2 separate regions of the Homo sapiens genome follow, and region 1 is linked to region 2. The links are contacts of gene promoters, found by promoter capture Hi-C in human tissues and cell types (Jung and others, 2019). All regions are on one chromosome and are shown on one strand. The core of a region is centred on a gene start or on the middle of the fragment in contact, and the rest is flanking DNA. Distances in the headings are between cores, read along the strand shown. Region 1 has its middle 26 kb from the start of PLK4. Region 2 holds the start of MFSD8 (major facilitator superfamily domain containing 8).

Region 1 (2,700 bases), core at 180-2,679, 58 kb before region 2:
TTGATGCAATTAATTGACATGATGAAAAAATATGTGATAGTGGGATAGCCATTCCTAATGAAGGAATAAGAATAGAATGAAACAACTTCAATATCATAAAGACTGTTTAACCTAATGTGTCCTGCTGGTTTTTATAATCAGAAATATTAGAGCTGTTTCTTTTAAGTAGACAAGTAGACAATGTTATGATTATTCAACATTGTTTTGGAGGTTTTTGCCTCAGACAATAAGGAAGAAAAATAATACTTATATTTGCAACATAAATTGCAGAACTGATATTAAACTACCACCATACCCCTCTCCCAGAGAAAACCAGTAACAGAAAAAAGGGGATTGAAGGAAATTTTCTGTTGTCACACAGTAGAAAAATGGACAAGACATATGAATTGATAGTTCACAAAGGAAGGAAGTCCATATGGTCAATAAAAAGGAAATATGCTCAACCTCATAAAAGTTGGGGAAATGCAAAGTTAAAGCAAGATAATAATTTTCCTTTATCAAAGAATGGGTTTAAGATTAAGTAATAGCCCAGTGCAGTGGCTCATGCCTGTAATCCCAGCACTTTGGGAGGCCAAGGCAGGCAGGTCCCCTGAGGTCAGGAGTTCAATACCAGCCTGGCCAACATGGTGAAGCAGTGTCTCTACTAAAAATACAAAAATTAGCGAGGTTAGGTGGTGCACGCCTCTAATCCCAGCCACTTGGGAGACTGAGGCACGAGAATCTCTAGAACCCGGGAGGTGGAGGTTGCAGTGAACTGAGATAGCGCCACTGCACTCCAGCCTGGGTGACAGAGCAAGGCTCTGTCTTTAAAAAAAAAAAAAAAATTGAAATAATAATGCTCACAATATGTATAAGACATTCTCAGGTGTTGATTAGGGTGTAAATGATAACTGTGAAAGTAATATGGCAGTATCTATAAGAATTACCACATTGATAATCCAACTTTGGGGAAAGGAAGGATGTAAGCCCTTAGAGAAAATATGATCAGTAATAACAATTTCCCTTTAAAAATTGAAATAAAATGCCAGGCACAGTGGCTCATGCCTGTAATCCTAACACTTTGGGAGGCCAAGGCGGGTGAATCACTTGAGGTCAGGAGTTCAAGACCAGCCTGGCAAACATGGTGAAACCCCATCTCTACTAAAAATACAAAAATTAGCTGGGCATGGTGGCACACGCCTGTAATCCCAGCTACTCGGGAGGCTGAGGCAGGAGAATTGCTTGAACCTGGGAGACAGAGGTTGCAGTGAGCCAAGATCATGCCACTGCACTCCAGCCTGGGCAACAGAGCAAGACTCTGTCTCAAAAATAAATAAAATAAAAATGGAAATAAAGTAATCCCGAGCTAAATTTTATTTTATTTTATTATTTTTTTTAGACGGAGTCGCCTTCTGTCACCCAGGCTGGAGTGCAGTGGCATGATCTCGGCTCACTGCAACCTCTGCCTCTCAGGTTCAAGCGATTCATCTGCCTCAGCCTCCCAAATAGCTGGAATTGTAGACATGTGCCACCATGCCCAGCTAATTTTTGTATTTTTAGTAGAGATGGGGTTTCAACATGTTGGCCAGGCTGGTCCCGAACTCCTGACCTCAAGTGATCCACCTGTCTCGGCCTCCGAGAGTGCTGGGATTACAGGCGTGAGCCACCGCACCTGGCCTGAGCTAAATTTTAAAGGCCAATGACTCAAAACATACATTTCTGCTTTGACAGATGTTAACTAGTATACTTTTTATTATCTCTTCGTCTTTATGAGTGAGTCTATTTTTTAAGTATTTTTCTTATACATAACATATAGCTAAATTTTATTTTGATTACAATTTAATAACTTCTAATTTTTACATATATTGTTATTTCTGGCTGTCTTATTGTCATTACAGTTCTATTTGGATTTATGTCTAGCAATTAATTTTGTGCTTTCTAGCATGTACTATATTTTTGCTTTGCTTTTCTTTTTTTCCTGTTACTTCTTTCAAGCTGAGTTTCCTTTAATCCCCTTTTTTCTCTCTACTCGTTTTCTCTGGGGGAGGGGTATGGTGGTAGTTTAATATTCAATGTTTATATTACTGTGACTATGAAAATATTCATAGCTCCGCCAGGCGCAGTGGCTCACACCTGTAATCCCAGCACTTTGGGAGGCCAAGGGAGGCGGATCACCTGAGGTCGGGAGTTCGAGATCAGCATGACCAACATGAAGAAACCTCATCTCTACTAAAAATACAAAATTAGCCAGGCATGGTGGCACATGCCTGTAATCCTAGCTACTCTGGAGGCTGAGGCAGGAGAAACTCCAGGAAGCAGAGGTTGCGGTGAGCCGAGATCGCACCATAGCATTCCAGCCTGAGCAACAAAAGCGAAACTCCATCTCAAAAAAAAAAAAAGAAAGAAAAAGAAAAAAAGAAAATACTCACAGCTGAACTATGTACTATGCTAGAATTATATTTCTTGAACAATTTTTTTTCTGGAATTCTTTTGTTTTCTCTGATATGTCAGGTAATCTGTCTGTGCTTTTTTGTTGATCCATTTATCCCCTCTTTTGGAGACATCTCTCTGCTTTCCTTTTTCTACCTGGACTGGTTCCTTTGTAGTTTTCCAGTGTAGGAATGTACAGCAGTTTGTTTATATGTTATACTGTTGATGGACATTTGAGTTGTTTCCAGATTTTGGCTGTAAATATATACTTTATGAACATCTTCTGGTGCA
Region 2 (2,700 bases), core at 194-2,693:
ATCGCAAAGAGCGAAAAAACAAAGCTTCCACACTGTGGAAAGGGACCTCAGCGGGTTGCCACTACTGGTGGGCAGCCTGCTTTTATTCTCTTATCTGGCCCCACCCACATCCTGCTGATTGGTAGAGCCGAGTAGTCTGTTTTGACAGGGCGCTGATTGGTGCGTTTACAATCCCTGAGCTAGACACAAAGGTTCTCCACGTCCCCACTAGATTAACTAGATACAGAGTGTTGACAGAAAGGTTCTCCAAGGCCCCACCAGAGTAGCTAGATACAGAGTGTCGACTGGTGCATTCACAAACCCTGAGCTAGACACAGGGTGCTGATTGGTGTGTTTACAAACCTTGAGCTAGATACAGAGTGCCGATTGGTGTAGTTACAATCCCTGAGCTAGACATAAACGTTCTCCACGTCTCCACCAGACTCAGGAGCCCAGCTGGCTTCGCCCAGTGGATCCCGCACCGGGGCTGCAGGTGGAGCTGCCTGCCAGTCCCGCGCCGTGCACCCGCACTCCTCAGCCCTTGGGTGGTCGATGGGACTAGGCACCGTGGAGTAGGGAGCGGCGCTCATCGGGGAGGCTCGGGCCGCACAGGAGCCCACGGAGTGGGTGGGAGGCTCAGGCATGGCGGGCTGCAGGTCCCGAGCCCTGCCCCGCGGGAAGGCAGCTAAGGCCCGGCGAGAAATCGAGCGCAGCGCCAGTGGGCTGGCACTGCTGGGGGACCCAGCACACCCTCCGCAGCCGCTGGCCCGGGTGCTAAGCCCCTCATTGCCCGGGGCCGGCAGGGCCGGCCTGCTGCTCCCAGTGCGGGGCCCGCCAAGCCCACGCCCACTCGGAACTCCAGCTGGCCCGCAAGCGCGGCGCGCAGCCCCGGTTCCCGCTCACGCCTCTCCCACCACACCTCCCTGCAAGCTGAGGGAGCCGGCTCCCACCTTGGCCAGCCCAGAAAGGGGCTCCCACAGTGCAGCGGTGGGCTGAAGGGCTCCTCAAGTGCCGCCAAAGTGGGAGCCCAGGCAGAGGAGGCCTGGAGAGCGAGCAAGGGCTGTGAGGACTGCCAGCACGCTGTCACCTCTCAGCTTGGGTGCTGCAACAGGCAAAGCAGCAGCCTGGGTTTCTCCAGCCCCGTCACTCGAACCCACGGGCTCATCACCGCACGGTGCGGCCAGACGCCCTTTCTCCTACGTTGGGAGCGAATCTCCTCGGCTCACACAACCCAGCCACCGGCTCCCACCGCGCTGGAACCCCTCTGGCAGCGAGGGTTTGTCCCAGTGCGGGTGACGCCCGGAAAGGAACCAGTCCCAACAGCGCAGGAGACTGAGGGGTCCCTCCACCAGGATCCGCTCACCTGCTTCCAGGTGTGTCGCCTAAGAGCGGCTCCTGTTCACTTTCGTTCCGCAGGCCGGCCATAGTTACACTCCCTACAAGGCGTCTTGCGCCCAACTCTCGCGACACCTGCTTTCTCCCATCCCGGGTGGCGTGAAGCTGGCAAAACAAGCCTGTAAGTGCGCGTGCGCACCTGACGGTCAGACGTAGGCGGAACGCCCCGAGGTCATAGGCGGGGTCACGCGGAAGGCCGGGCAGCGCAGGGCGAAAGGAGGCTGTGTCCTCAGCCTCCTCCCTCGGCACGCGCCTCCCATCCTGACGGGGACTGAGAGCCCAGGAGAGCTCGGGGCGTGTCCAAACTGCCGCGCCGCCCTGCTCCGGGTTTGTCTTCCTCCCTCCGTTTCTCCTTCCGCTGTATCTAGCATTTCGGTTCCTGGAAAGGTTACCGGAGCTGCGATTGGGGCTGGGACCAAAGTTGAGTCCTGGAAAGGGAGCCTGGAGAGCGGCGGTGCTGGGAGGCCCGGCCAGCTCGATCGCAGGCTTCCACCTGGCGGCCAGTAAGTAGCCGGTCCGGTTAAGTAGTAGGTGCGCTAAGAGCTCCCCGCGCCTCTTAGCGCGCCGTGTACGCGCCTGGAGGCAGGGACCGGGGACGCGGAGCTGGGCGGGAGACTCGCGGGTCAGGGACGCGGGGTGAGGCTGGGGGTGAGAGACAAGGCTGGAGTCCGTGGCGCGCTTCGGAGGGCTGAGATAATGGGGGCGAGCGCGCGGGCAGTCCCTTCCCCCCGTGAAAGGTAGAGGTGGCTTCCAGCTCTCTTCTCTAGCTCGGCTAAATGCAAAGGCGCCTTACCTGGAGGGCTTGTCAGAGCCAGGACTGAAGGTGGGATCTGCTGCTTGTAACCTGCAGGTCCCCGGATGCGCACCCCAACGGCGCCTGCGCCTACGGGGGCCTCAGCCTTGCAAAATGTCACTCAGCAGAGCCTGCTGCTGAAACGTGGGAGTTGAAAAAGGTACAGCACCTGCCTAGCAATGACCAGCTCCTTTCGTCACAAGGAAGATGACATTTTTAGAAAACATGTCATGGGTTTTCACTAGATCTCCATGTTTATTTCTTGGTGGTTATGTATTAACATCTTATCTCTACTATTAGGCTTGTAGGCTAGCTGGCGTCAGTAGTCATTCTGTGTCTCATAAATTACCGTTTTATTAGCGCCAGATACATTGTCATGTAATTTCATTTGATCACAAGTATCCTATGAGATAGGCGAAGCAGACACATTGCTAGTTTACTGAAAATTAAGATCCAGACAAGTTAACCCAGAGTCACTCTGTGTGGAAGTGGCAAAGTTGGAAACCAAACTTAATTTTTTTAAATTAATATTT

What was found. Contacts are between HindIII fragments. The study calls those that stand out against the background at their distance.
Region 1: a contact is called between a fragment that was not itself captured here and the fragment with the promoter of MFSD8 in region 2, in 1 of the 25 tissues and cell types used here (H1 embryonic stem cells).

What each region holds. Positions count from the first base shown.
Region 1 is chr4:127,905,653-127,908,352 of GRCh38, forward strand. No RefSeq gene overlaps it. Among named protein-coding and RNA genes, the nearest start is that of PLK4, 26 kb to the left of the region's middle. The HindIII fragment of the contact is 8,501 bases long and covers 1-2,700 here.
Region 2 is chr4:127,963,730-127,966,429 of GRCh38, forward strand. MFSD8 (major facilitator superfamily domain containing 8) reads right to left here and starts at 1,444. Exons shown (of 12, transcript NM_001371596.2): 1 at 1,343-1,444. The coding sequence starts at 1,404. It overlaps ABHD18 (abhydrolase domain containing 18), which reads left to right and starts at 1,677. Exons shown (of 13, transcript NM_001358451.3): 1 at 1,677-1,877. RefSeq lists silencers at 401-510, 621-750, 761-810, 1,931-2,160 and enhancers at 1,251-1,670, 1,261-1,876, 2,555-2,700. The HindIII fragment of the contact is 8,084 bases long and covers 1-2,700 here.